Linked DNA regions of Homo sapiens: region 1 is linked to region 2. Evidence: promoter capture Hi-C in 16 types of primary human blood cells and fetal thymus (Javierre and others, 2016). All regions are on one chromosome and are shown on one strand. Each heading gives the region's core, a stretch centred on a gene start or on the middle of the fragment in contact. The rest is flanking DNA. Distances are from core to core; before and after follow the strand shown. Region 1 has its middle 19 kb from the start of DENND3. Region 2 holds the start of PTK2 (protein tyrosine kinase 2).

Evidence for each region. Contacts are between HindIII fragments. The CHiCAGO score rates a contact against its expected background, and 5 or more counts as called.
Region 1: a contact is called between a fragment that was not itself captured here and the fragment with the promoter of PTK2 in region 2, in 1 of 17 cell types (total B cells). The highest score is 7.4, in total B cells.

Annotation. Positions count from the first base shown.
Region 1 is chr8:141,106,387-141,112,915 of GRCh38, reverse strand. No RefSeq gene overlaps it. Among named protein-coding and RNA genes, the nearest start is that of DENND3, 19 kb to the left of the region's middle. RefSeq lists enhancers at 1-508, 509-1,030, 5,963-6,302. The HindIII fragment of the contact is 3,921 bases long and covers 1-3,410 here.
Region 2 is chr8:140,999,769-141,005,657 of GRCh38, reverse strand. It overlaps PTK2 (protein tyrosine kinase 2), which reads left to right and starts at 4,376. Exons shown (of 36, transcript NM_001352702.2): 1 at 4,376-4,533. RefSeq lists silencers at 3,942-4,361, 4,382-4,711. The HindIII fragment of the contact is 6,005 bases long and covers 3,143-5,889 here.

The DNA.
Region 1 (6,529 bases), core at 201-2,700, 110 kb before region 2:
CACAGAGAGAATGGGGGGTCCCAGCTAGCCAGCAGGTCCCGCTCACTAGGGGCCCGCTTCATCCCGGGGACTCTGAACAGGCTTCTCCCGTCGCCTCCAGGCTCCCGTTAGTCTTGCTTCAGAAGAAGTCCTGCTCAGAGGCACCCCGAAGTCCTGATCAGAGGCACCCCACAGCAGGTCTGCAGCTGGGAGTCCAGCCCCCATGTCCACATCCCTGGAGAGGCCTGGTGCCCTGCCGCGTGCAGCAGAAAGAAGCATTAGTGCTCTGCCCTGAAGCCTCGTTCCCCACACTTGCCGCCACAGTCCAGCCTTGGAGCATCTTTGTGGCCATGACCTCTTGGGCCGATCCCCCGTCTGCCTCCTAGTGATGGCTACGGGTGATCACCCCAGGCAGCCCTCCTCCCCAGCCTGGCCTGGTGGAGCCCTCTTTGGACCCTGCTAGGGTCTTGGCTTGACCCCAGCTCTCCCGCTGAGCTGAGGCTATAGCCACAGGGAGCCGGCCGTGCCTCTCTGGTAGCACTTTCCTGGCCGGGCAGCCACATGCTGGCCTAGGGGCCCAGGCCCTACTGATCTCTCCTCCTCCAGGAAGCAGCTCTCAGCGCAGACCCAGCCCAGAAGAAGGCTGGAGGTGCCACCTGACCCCCTCAGCCTCCGCTCTGTCCTCTGCCCTGGCCCCTGCATCTGGCAGTGCCTCCCAGTTTCCCTACCCTGGCGAAGCACGTGGATTGTCAGGCACCTCCCCTGCTTAATGATTCTCCTGCCTCAGCTTAGGATTCTCCAGTGGCTCCCAGTGCCCTCAAGACGTGCTGCAGCCCCACGGCAGATTCAAGGCCCTCCACAGGGCAACGTGTTCCGTCGAGATCCCTGCCAGCCCCTCTGCACATTCCCAACTCCCACCCAAGATAACCTTGGCTACGTCTAATTCTCCAGCCCTTCCTTGCCTTTGCCCAGGTGCTCCTCTGCTCCTTCCCCACCTGCCCCATGCAGCGGCTCCTCCTGACTCACCTGTGCAGGTGCTCCCTTGCCACTGCCCTCTCCCCGTGCACACACTGCTTTGTAACTACGGAACAACTACTGCAACTCAGAACAGGATGTCAAGTCCAGGTCCAGGAATGGCGGCCATGCAGGCATGGGGCTAGACCCTGGAGGCACAAGGATGGACGAGGCAGGGTCTCTCTACTCATGAGGGGCTTAACTGCTTGTCCAACAGACAGGTGCAGAAACAGTCCATCCCAACAGAATTCCCCAACGACAGCCCCAGAATGCCACAGAAACAGTCCGTCCCAACAGAATTTCCCAACTATGGCCCCAGAATGCTGCAGAAACAGTTTGTCCCAACAGAATTCCCCAAGGACAGCCCCAGAAGGCCACAGAAACAGTCCGTCCCAACAGAATTCCCCAAGGACAGCCCCAGAAGGCCACAGAAACAGTCCGTCCCAACAGAATTCCCCAACAACGGCCCCAGAACACAAGGGCGTTGGAGCCATGCTGTGGGAGGAGGGGCTCAGGAAGTCTTCCTGTGGAGGAGGCCGTGTGGGCAGAAGCTGGAGTGGCCAGCATCCTGGTTTCCCTGGGGCTGTCCCAGGTCTAGCACTAACAGCTCTGCTTCCCAGGAAGTCGCTCAGTCCCAGGCAAACTGGGACGGTCGGTCACCGTAGCAGAGCCAGGTGGCAGCCTCTTCGTGGTTCAGAGGCAGAACCGACAGGCAAGCAGCGTGGGGCCCTCAGGAAGGGCTTGTTATTAGCAGCCGATCCACTGAAATCCCGAAGGACCCCAAAGCTGGGTGCCCCCACCCTATTCTGCATACCCACTGGCCCGTCCTCCCTGACCCTACACATGGGCCCCAATAGCCTCGAAGTCTCTGTAGAATGTGTTCAGGTGTGGCCCACCTGAGAAGCAGGTTCAGGGCCCAGGGTGATGGTCTTGCATGAGTGAATGAATGAATTATTAAGTGAACAAAGGAATGAACACATGGCTCCTACTTTCTCTTTTTATTTTTTCTTTTTTTTTTTGGAGACAGAGTCTCCGTCTGTTGCCCAAGCTGGAGTGCTGCGGCGCGAAATCAGTTCACTGTAACCTCCACCTACTGGGTTCAAGGGATTCTCTTGCCTCAGCCTCCCCAGTAGCTGGGATTACAGGCGCTCACCACTGTGCCTGGCTAATTTTTTGTTTTTGTTTTTGTTTTTACTAGAGACAGGGTTTCACCATGTTGGCCAGGCTGGTCCCAAACTGCTGATCTCAAGTGATCTGCCCACCTCTGCCTCCCAAAGTGCTGGGATTATAGGCATGAGCCACTGTGCCCGGCCCTCCTTTCTCTTCAAAGACATTTTGCAAATAAAGGGCAGAGCTGGGGGGTCGTTCTTACCGTACACATGCACCCCTCCCACGACAGAAGCAAATTTTCATTTAATTCTGCCCTTGCCCTCCTTCTATTCTCAACATGCGATGGTCCTGCCTCACTCAGAGGAGAAGCAGGAGTGTGGGTCCCTTGCTCACAGCTGTATCCACAGCGTCTGGATCAGCCCCGGGAGCGGAATGGGGGCTCGTGAGAATTCCTGGGACCACGGCTGAAGGAATCCCCTCAAATCCTCAAGAAGAGCCACGGGATTCCCCTCTCAACCCAACCCTACAGATTTGCCCCACCCTGACCAGAATGACTCCAGGGGGCCCTGCACGCCTCTCGGCTGGAATGAGAGACAGACACGTGGCCTGCGTGGACGGCGTTGCCCGCAGGGGACATAGTGAGAATAGCATCAGGACAACAAAGCTGATGCGGGGCCTAATAGCTCAGGAAGTTGGTGCTATTGATAAGCAATTACCTATTTTAAAGATACATATATATATTTTTGAGATGGAGTCTCACTCTGTCGCCCAGGCTGGAGTGCAGTGGCACACTCTCAGCTCACTGCAACCTCCGCCTCCTAGTGGTTCGAGTGATTCTCCTGCCTCAGCCTCCTGAGTAGCTGGGATTTCAGGCACCCGCCACCACGCCTGGCTATTTTTTGTATTTGTGGTAGAAATGGGGTTTTGCCATGTTGGCCAGGCTGGTCTCGAATTCCTGACCTCAGGTGATCCCCCCATCTCAGCTTCCCAAAGTGCTGGGATTACAGGTGTGAGCCACTGCACCCAGCCATATATATATATATTTATATATATTTATATATATATATTTTTTTTATTTTTATTTTTATTTTTTTTTTGGAGACAGGGTCCTGCTCTGTGGCCCAAGCTGGAGTGCAGTGGTGTGATTACAGCTCACTACAGCCTCAACCTCCTGGGCACAAGTGATCCTCCCACCTCAGCCCCCCAAGTGGCAGGGACCGCAAGAGCATACCACCATGCCAGCTAATTTTTGCATTAGCCTCAAAAAGGAAGGAAATTCTGGTACGTGCTGCAACAAGACGGAAGCTTGAGGACACGGCGCTCTGTGAAAGAAACCAGTTAGGAAAGAGCAGATGCTGTGGGATTCCACTCACCTGAGTCCCTAGAGACAGTGAGAAGCGTGGTGGGAGCCGGGGCCTGGGGGAGGGGAATGGGGAGCCAGTGTTTCGTGGGGATGGAGTTTCAGCCGGGGAAGATGAAGCCGTTCTGGAGGTGATGGTGGTGATGGTCATACGATGTTATGAATGTGCTTAATGCCACTGAACTGCACACTTAAAAGTGGTAAACATGGCCGGGCGCGGTGGCCTGGCCAACATGGTGAAACCTCGTCTCTACTAAAAATACAAAAATTATCCGGGCATGGTGGTAGGCACCTGTAGTCCCAGCTACTGGGGAGCCTGAGGCAGGAGAATCGCTTGAACCAGGAAGGTGGAGGTTGCAGTGACCCAGCGGAGTTTTAGGGTCCCAGACAGCCCATGTTCCCAGCACTGCCACCTTCTTGCTGGCGGGCGCTGCCAGGACAGCCTCACAGCCAAGGGCAAGGATGGGTTTGTGCCCCCAAAACCCACCCAAGGTGGGCAGATGGGCTGGCAGGATCAGCTCTGCCCTCTAATGGGTTCCCGTGAGGAGAGACCCCAAGCACATCCCCACTTCATTGTTTAAAACTTTTTTTTTTTGAGACAGTATCTGTTGCCCAGGATGGCTAGAATGCAGCAGTGCCATTGCAGCCCACTGCAGCCTCGACTTCCCTGGCTCAAGTGATCCTCCTGCCTCAGCCTCCCAATTAGCTGGGACTACAGGTGAGCGTCACCACACCCAGCTAATTTTTTCTATTCTTTGCAGAGACAGGGTCTCCCTATGTTGCCCAGGCTGGTCTTGAACTCCTGGGCTCAAACAGTCCTCCTGCTTCAGCCTCCCAGTGTTGTGATTACAGTCATGAGCCACCGCACCCAGCCAAAACTTATTTTTATTACCCAAGTAATACACATTCATTGTAGAAAAAATGGAAAATACATATAAACAATTGGCAAAACAAACAGCAATCACCTATAATCCCAGCACCCAGAGAATTTATCATTAACACCATGTATGACCCAGATTTGTGCAGAGAAGTGCATATCAGCATTTTTAGAGGCTGACTTCATACTCATATCTCCAGAGTCCATGTGTCTCCTGCTATGACATTGACAAGGACGAAAAAGAACGTGGAGAATGTGAGGAACAGGGCCTGATGGATTCCAGTAGGGGAGGGCCCTGGTAGCCTCCCGAGGGAAGGCGTGATGTAACACAAGTGGCTTGACCTTGACCTTACACCTTCACTGTTGGAATTTACCCTAAAAACAACTGACCAGGCACAAGAAGGTGCCGTTGTGGATGAGCCATGCCAGTGGCCACATCCACGTGATGAGCATGATGCTGCTACCAAACAGAGGTGTGGAATCTATGTTCATGAAACATGGGAGGTGCGAGCAGATTCATGGTTTTCAAAACATTGGTTCTTCAATGGGTGAAACACAGAGCTGCCATCAGTCCCAGCAGTCCCACAGCGGGCACCTCACACACCCAAAAGAGCTGCAGGCATTTCACACACCCAAAAGAGCTGCAGGCATCACACACCCAAAAGAGCTGCAGGCATCTTACACACCCAGAAGAGCTGCAGGCATCTCACACCCAGAAGAGCCACAGGCATCTCACACCCAAAAGAGCTGCAGGCATCTCTCACACCCAGAAGAGCTGCAGGCATCTCACACCCAAAAGAGCTGCAGGCATCACACACACCCAAAAGAGCTGCAGGCATCTCACACCCAAAAGAGCTGCAGGCATCACACACACCCAAAAGAGCTGCAGGCATCTCACACCCAAAAGAGCTGCAGGCATCACACACACCCAAAAGAGCTGCAGGCATCTCACACCCAAAAGAGCTGCAGGCATCACACACACCCAGAAGAGCTGCAGGCATCTCACACCCAAAAGAGCTGCAGGCATCACACACACCCAGAAGAGCTGCAGCCATCACACACACCCAAAAGAGCTGCAGGCATCTCTCACACCCAAAAGAGCTGCAGGCATCACACACACACAGAAGAGCTGCAGGCATCTCTCACACCCAAAAGAGCCGCAGGCATCTCACACCCAAAAGAGCCGCAGGCATCTCATACACCCAGAAGACCTGCAGGCATCTCACACCCAGAAGACCTGCAGGCATCTCATACCCGAAAGAGCTGCAGGCATCTCACACACCCAAAAGAACTGCAGACATCACACACACCCAAAAGAGCTGCAGGCATCTCTCACAGTCAAAAGAGCTGCAGGCATCTCTCACACTCAAAAGAGCTGCAGGCATCACACACACTCAAAAGAGCTACAGGCATCTCACACCCAAAAGAGTTGCAGGCATCTCTCACACCCAAAAGAGCTGAAACTGGTCTTCAGATACTTGTACAGGAACATTTATAGCAGCATTATTTATGATGGCCACGATGTGGAAACTACCCAAGTTTCCATCAACAGATAAATGAACACATGAAATCGGGTATCTCCATACAGTGGGGTTGTAGTCAGCCCTGTGAAGGAATGAAGGGCTGACTCACGCTACAACGTGGGTGAACCTGGAAAACACCATGGCCAGTGAAAGAAGCCAGCCACAAATGCCCGCACCTTGCATGCCTCCATTTATAGGAGACATCCAGGATAGACAGAGAAAAGAGATAGAAAGTAGATTGGGGGTTGCCAGGAGCTAGGGGGAAGGAGGAGTGAGAGGTGACTGCTGGCGGGCTTGGGGTCCCCTTCGGGGGTGATGGAGCTGTCTTGGAACCGGATAGAGGTGGCAATAGAAGTTAGTGAGTGCAGTAAGTGCTACTGAACTGTGTACGTCAAAATGGTTGATGGTGAATTTTGTTATGTGAACTTTTCCCCAGTTGAATAAAACACTGAGTTTTCCTTTTAAAAAAAACTCTGAGTGGTGCTGTAAGGCCTCGCTTCTCAAAGTGAGGTCTGAGGACCAGCAGTGTCTCATCAGCCCAAGCCGGTCAAAAATGCAGAACCCCAGGTTCCACCCAACCTCCCCTGCCGTGGTCGTGTGGACACACCCTCCAGTCTGAGAGGCTGTTTAGCGGGGCACAGCTCAAGAGGAAGGGCTGTGCTAGAT
Region 2 (5,889 bases), core at 3,127-5,626:
CTTTCCTTCTGGATGTCTTCCCTAGGGGCATCCCCTGCCCCTGACTTCTGCTCTTCCACTTTACAGAGGAGGAAACTGAGACTCTGGGAGGTTGAGCAGCCTGCTTGGAGCCATGGGGTTGTCACGTGGGGAGCTGGGATTGGAGGCCAGGTCTGTCAGACCCTTTCTCCATTCCGCCACTCTCCATATTCTTGAGGCCCAGCATGCCCTGGCGATGTAAGAGGCCCATAGCTCCCAGAAGCACATCTTACTGGATCAAAAATTACCCCAGGCACCTGTCCCCTGGGTCTCACTTTCTCTCATCCCAGCTTCTCCAGACAGATCTGCAGGGTGGTCAGCTGTGATGTGGGCAGGAACCTGGGCTTCAGTGTCTCTTCAGTGATATCAGCTTCCACGCCCCCATGACTGTGCATCCACCCCTGGCCTTAATGTGTGTTTCTGCTTCTCCAGCGTGAGTGAGCCCCTCCTGGGAGGGAGCCCTTAGCCGACCAGGGAGGTGGGGGGCTTTTCAAGGGGGAACTGCTCCCAGGCTCACTGCAGCTGCTCTGCCAACACACAGGAAGCTCTTCCTGAAAGCTTCCCACGCAAGGTCAGCGCTCACCCCATCTGGTGCAGTGCAGGAAGGGGAGAAGCCAAATTGTGTTCTCTGTTTGGTTTTTTTTTTTTTTTTTGTATGGGATATGAGTGCATCAGAGACTGCGCTGGGGAGAGGAAGGAGCACAGGCTTTGCAGTTGGACAGATGCAGCCTTGAATTCCAGCCCTGCTATCTGACTCATTGCTGCTGCTACTTCTTCTTTTTTTTTTTTTTTTTTCTGAGCAGTAGTTTTCTTTTCCTTTTTTTTTTTTTTTTTTTTTTTGAGATGGAGTCTTGCTTCTTCACCCAGGCTGGAGTGCAATGGCCCAACCTCAGCTCACTGTAACCTCCGCCTCCTGGGTTCGAGCAATTCTCCTGCCTCAGCCTCCCAAGTAGCTGGGATTACAGGCACGTGCCAGCACACCCGGCTAATTTTTGTATTTTTAGTAGAGACAGGGTTTCACTGTGGTTGGCCAGGCTGGTATCGATCTCCTGACCTCAAGTGATCCGCCCGCCTCGGCCTCCCAAAGTGCTGGGATTATAGGCGTGAGACACTGCGCCCAGCTGTCTGAGCAGTAGTTTTCAAATTTATAAAATGGAGGTGCCGATAATAGCGTCTACATCACAGGGTTGCTATGAGGTCTGGAGACAGCGTATTCAGGTTCTGACCCACAGAGACTGAGAGAAGTCAGCCTTCCTTGACTCTGTGCTCTGGTGGTCCTTTGCATACCCCTCCATCATCATGCAAATTATTAGTAATCGATAAAGCAATGCTATAGTCGATCAATAACACTTATATATGCTAAGCACCCTGCTGTTTTATGAGAATGGTTTGTTTCCTCTACAACCTAATTTTTTTTTTTGAGATGGAGTCTTGCTCTGTCACCCAGGCTGGAGTGCAGTGGCGCCATCTCCACCCACTGCAAGCTCTGCCTCCCGGGTTCACGCCGTTCTCCTGCCTCAGCCTCCCGAATAGCCGGGACTACAGGCGCCCGCCACCACGCTGGCTAATTTTTTTGTATTTTTAGTAGAGACGGGGTTTCACCTTGTTAGCCAGGATGGTCTCAATCTCCTGACCTCATGATCCACCCGCCTTGGCCTCCCACAGTGCTGGGATTACAGGTGTGAGCCACCGTGCCCGGCCTCTCTACAGCCTAATTCTAATGTACATCCTTTAGAGCCTCCATTTCACAGATGAGAAATTGAGGCTCAGAGACATTATACAACCTTCACAGGTTTATTGGTGAATGGTTAAACTTAAGCCTGGGTCTGTGCCAATGTTCATCTTACTCCTAAACCTGAGTTCTCAGGCACCACAAAGTGTGCCCAAGAGGTAAGACAAGCCACTGTTTCCTAGGTTTGTCCCTTTTCCCGTTTGTATCTCTGTTTGCCCTTCTCCTTTGCATCACTTCTTCCCGCCGTTTTCTGATTTCTTCTTTTACTAAGCATAATAATAACCAAAGCTGCCCTTCAAGAACGTCAATTTCAAATGTATCGTGGCAGAGTCCAGGAAACAATATTGTGTAACACACTACCCTAAAACCTAAAGGCTTAAAACCACATGTATTTTATTGGCTCACAATTCTGTGGTTTGGCAATTTGGGTTGGATTCAGCTGGGCAGTTCTTCCATCAGTCTCTCCAGGTCTTATGTATGCTTCACAGGGGCTGGGTGGTCTAGTACAGCTCACTCACATGTCTGGAGGTGGCACCTTGTTGGCCAGGGTGCCTCAGTTCTCTTCCACACGGCCTCCTCGTGAGGCTAGCTTGGGCTTAAGGGGGGAAAATGAAAGCAGCATGGCCTCTTGAGGCCTAGGCTTGGAATTTGTACAATGTCACTTGTGACACATCCCATTGGTCAAAGCAAGTTACAAGATCCCATCCACATTCAAGGGGTGAATAAATTCCACCTCTTCTTGGGAAAAGTGTCAAAGAATTGATGGCCATTTTTAGTCTACTATGCTAAGTGCAGCCCCTTCCCCCAAAGTTATCCTTAATGCAGTCCCTTTGTGCCTCCACTCTCCTCTTTTAATTCCCATGCTTTTCTTATCCTTTTAATAATAAGCTCTCACTTCACATCACCCAAAGCTTCGTTCATTCACTTGACAAATACTTACTGTGTGCCAGGACCTATTAGTGAACAAAACAAAGCCCGTGCTCTAATGAATCTAAGATTCTAGTGGAGAGAGCGGACAATCAAGAAATAAACAAGAACACAGTGTTGGGCTATGGTGAACAATAGGTGCTTTGGAGAACAACAGAGCAGACTAAGTGCGGACTGTGTGTGAGGATAGCAGGGCAGTGGGTGGTTCCTATTATATGAAGTGGTCGGCTGTATCAATGAGGTGATATATAAGCAGGGTATTGAACGAAGTGAGGAGCAAGAAGTTCCAGGCAGAGCAAATAGCACGCGCAAAGGCCTGAGGCTGGCATGGAGAGGCAATTCCTTACAATTTCATATGTAGTAAAAAGTAACAAAACCCAGAAAAACACCAACCTTAATACATCTCATTAAAGAACAATACAACCCAAACATTTAAATATGGTAAAATCTTGATAAGCAAAAGCTTTTTATTTTACTTCATTTTTACTTTTATAAAAGCTCCTAATGCAATGACGTGTGTCACCTCTCTGGGCTTCAGGGTGTTCACCTTTCAAAAGGCCTCGGTGCCTGTCTGTCCTGCTTCCTGGCTTGTGGTTAGCATCAAAATGACACCATAAAAATGAAAGTTGCAGCCTTGAGGGTTCTTCTGGTTTCATTTCCGACCACAAGGTTGCCAGAGTGACTTTTTTTTTTTTTTAAATAACACAAATCAGTTATCACTTCCTGCTTAAAGCCCTCCAAAGGTTCCCTGTTGCCTAAAGAATAAACTCCAGGCACCTAAGCAAGCCCCACGCAGCCGTCTGCATTTTTCAATCCCTCCAACCTCGCCTTTTGCTATTTCCCCCACCCCACCTACGGCACGTTCCGGTCATAACCAACTAGCTCCTCGCTGAAACTGGCTCACACCGCGGAAGCCCGGGTCGGTGTCGGGGCGAGCCTTCCCTCCTTTTCCTGGAGCCCGTCTCAGGTCTGTAGCCCTCGGGAGGGATTGCAGGGCTCGTTCCCTGCTGGCGTTCATTTAGGTAACCTGTCTACCTCCAGTGGACTTCTAAGTCCCTTTCATGATTTTTCATCTTCCAAAATCAAATAATGGCCCAGCCCAACTTAGCTATAATGCCATGAAAAGAATCTCTGAGCCTCAGTTTCCTTGTCTGCAAAAAGGGCCCAGGAACCGCTCGTTAGGGTCGGTGTGGTGCCTGGAGAGTGCACTGCAAGGCCCGGGGCCCGCAGCGGGTGCCCGACAGCGGGCGTCCAACTCTGGGGGCGGGGCCGCAGGGCCGCTCAGGAGGGAGGTTCTCCAGAGGGGACCCCTTCGGGATTTGGGGGCAGGGAAGGAGATGGGGAGGACTTTCCCGAAGTCCGTCTAATCCCGCTGGCGGAGAGCGAGGCAGGTGGGACCCCAGGATGTCCGCTCGGCGGGGCGACCCCGGCCACCCCCGAGACCAGGGCTTTCCTCGTCCGGCCGCCACGCCCGCGCGCAGCCTCGGGCCACCCCGAAACCCCGGCGCGGTCACTACAGGACAAATTACGCGAGCAGAGCCTAGCGGCGCGCTGGGCATGCGCGGGGGCGGCGCGCATGCCCAGTCCCCCCGAGAGGCGGGAACTCCGGACTGAGACCGGGTCGGGCGTGCGCTGCCGAGAGAGGACGCGCGCCTCAGCCGGCTGCCGCGCACGCGCGCGGGCCCGCGCCGACGCAGCACGGCCTCGAGGGCGCGAGCCCGCGCCGCCGCCGCCGCCGCCGGTCCCGGACCACTGTGAGCCCGCGGCGTGAGGCGTGGGAGGAAGCGCGGCTGCTGTCGCCCAGCGCCGCCCCGTCGTCGTCTGCCTTCGCTTCACGGCGCCGAGCCGCGGTCCGAGTGAGTGCGGGGCGCCGGGCGCGGGGCGCGGGTCGGGGGCTGGGCGGGCTCCTTCTGTGCAGCGGTCGTGGGCTGGGCCGCGGCCCTGAGGGCGGAGGGGCAGAGCGGGGCCGCCCAACCAGTCCCGGGGCGGATGCGGCGGAGACCGGCCCCTCCCGCGCCCCCGGCCCGGGTTCTGGGAGGAGGGGAGGCCGGTGGCCGTGAGGAGGTTGGGGGCCCTCGCGGAGGCCGAGAGGCTTAAGGAGGTCAGGGGGCGCGCTGGGAGGCGGGGGTTCGGGGCGCTGGGTGGTCGGGAGGCTTGGGGAAGACTGGGAGGCTGAGGGACGTGGGGAGGCCGGGAGCTCGAGGAGGTCGGGGGTTTTGGGGGCGCGCGGGGAGGCCAAGGGGTTCGGGGAAGACAGAAAGGCTGGGGGACGTGGGGAGTCCGGGAGACGTGAGGAGGAAGGGGGGGGCGGCTTTCGAAAAGGCCGGGCGCGCGGAGAGGCCGAGGGGCCTGAGGAAGACGAGGAGGCCGGGGCTCTGGGGGCGCGCAGGGCGGACAGAGGCGCGGGGAGGACGGGCCGGCCTCCGCCGGAGCGGACCCAATGCCTGAAAAACAAAAGGGGAGAGGCAGGAGGAGGAAGAGGGAAATCGCAGGGACGTCGGCAGGGTTCGCCCGGACGCGAGAGGGAGGCTCGCGACGGCCCGACCTCCGTCCCCCGGGCGCGGCCTCGCGGGCAGCCAAGGGTGGGCTCCGAGCGGCCTGCCGGTGCCCGAGCCCCAAGCCCGCCGTGTCCCCGAACGCAAACCCTCAAGTTTGGTAGAGCCCCGTGGGCTTCTTGGCGGGAGCCCTGGAGCCCTCACTGAAGTCCTCACTGGAGTCATTGTGCTTCCCAAGTTTTCTCCTCTTCCCCGCCCCCAGCCCCCGACTCTGCCGCGGTGGCTTAGGCGCAACTGTTTGCCGAATTTCTCTCTGGGTTCCTTGTGTAGCGGCATCCTGTTCTTTCTTAGAAGAAGGGGTGTGTGTGTGTGTGTGTGTGTGTGTGTGTGTGTGTGTGAATTGGTTTCATTTAATTGCAGAATTTTGTAGCTAAATTCAGTGAGGGTAAAGTTTCTTTTTTTTTTTTTTTCCGAGTCATTTCAACAGTGTCTCATTCTTGCATAGTTAGCCTGCAGCTGGGTTTTTGGCAATGAGACTAAGATAATAGTAATATTGTAGTAATTATGGGAACTGGTTATACATTCAAGCTGAAAGCTGAAGGCAGTGCAAGAGTTTGGGGATTTGTATTTAAGACTTAACCATCGCTAGGATTTTTACTTAGAATGTAAACGTTTTCATGGCTGGAAAAACAGACCAGTACTATTTGAAATGAAATA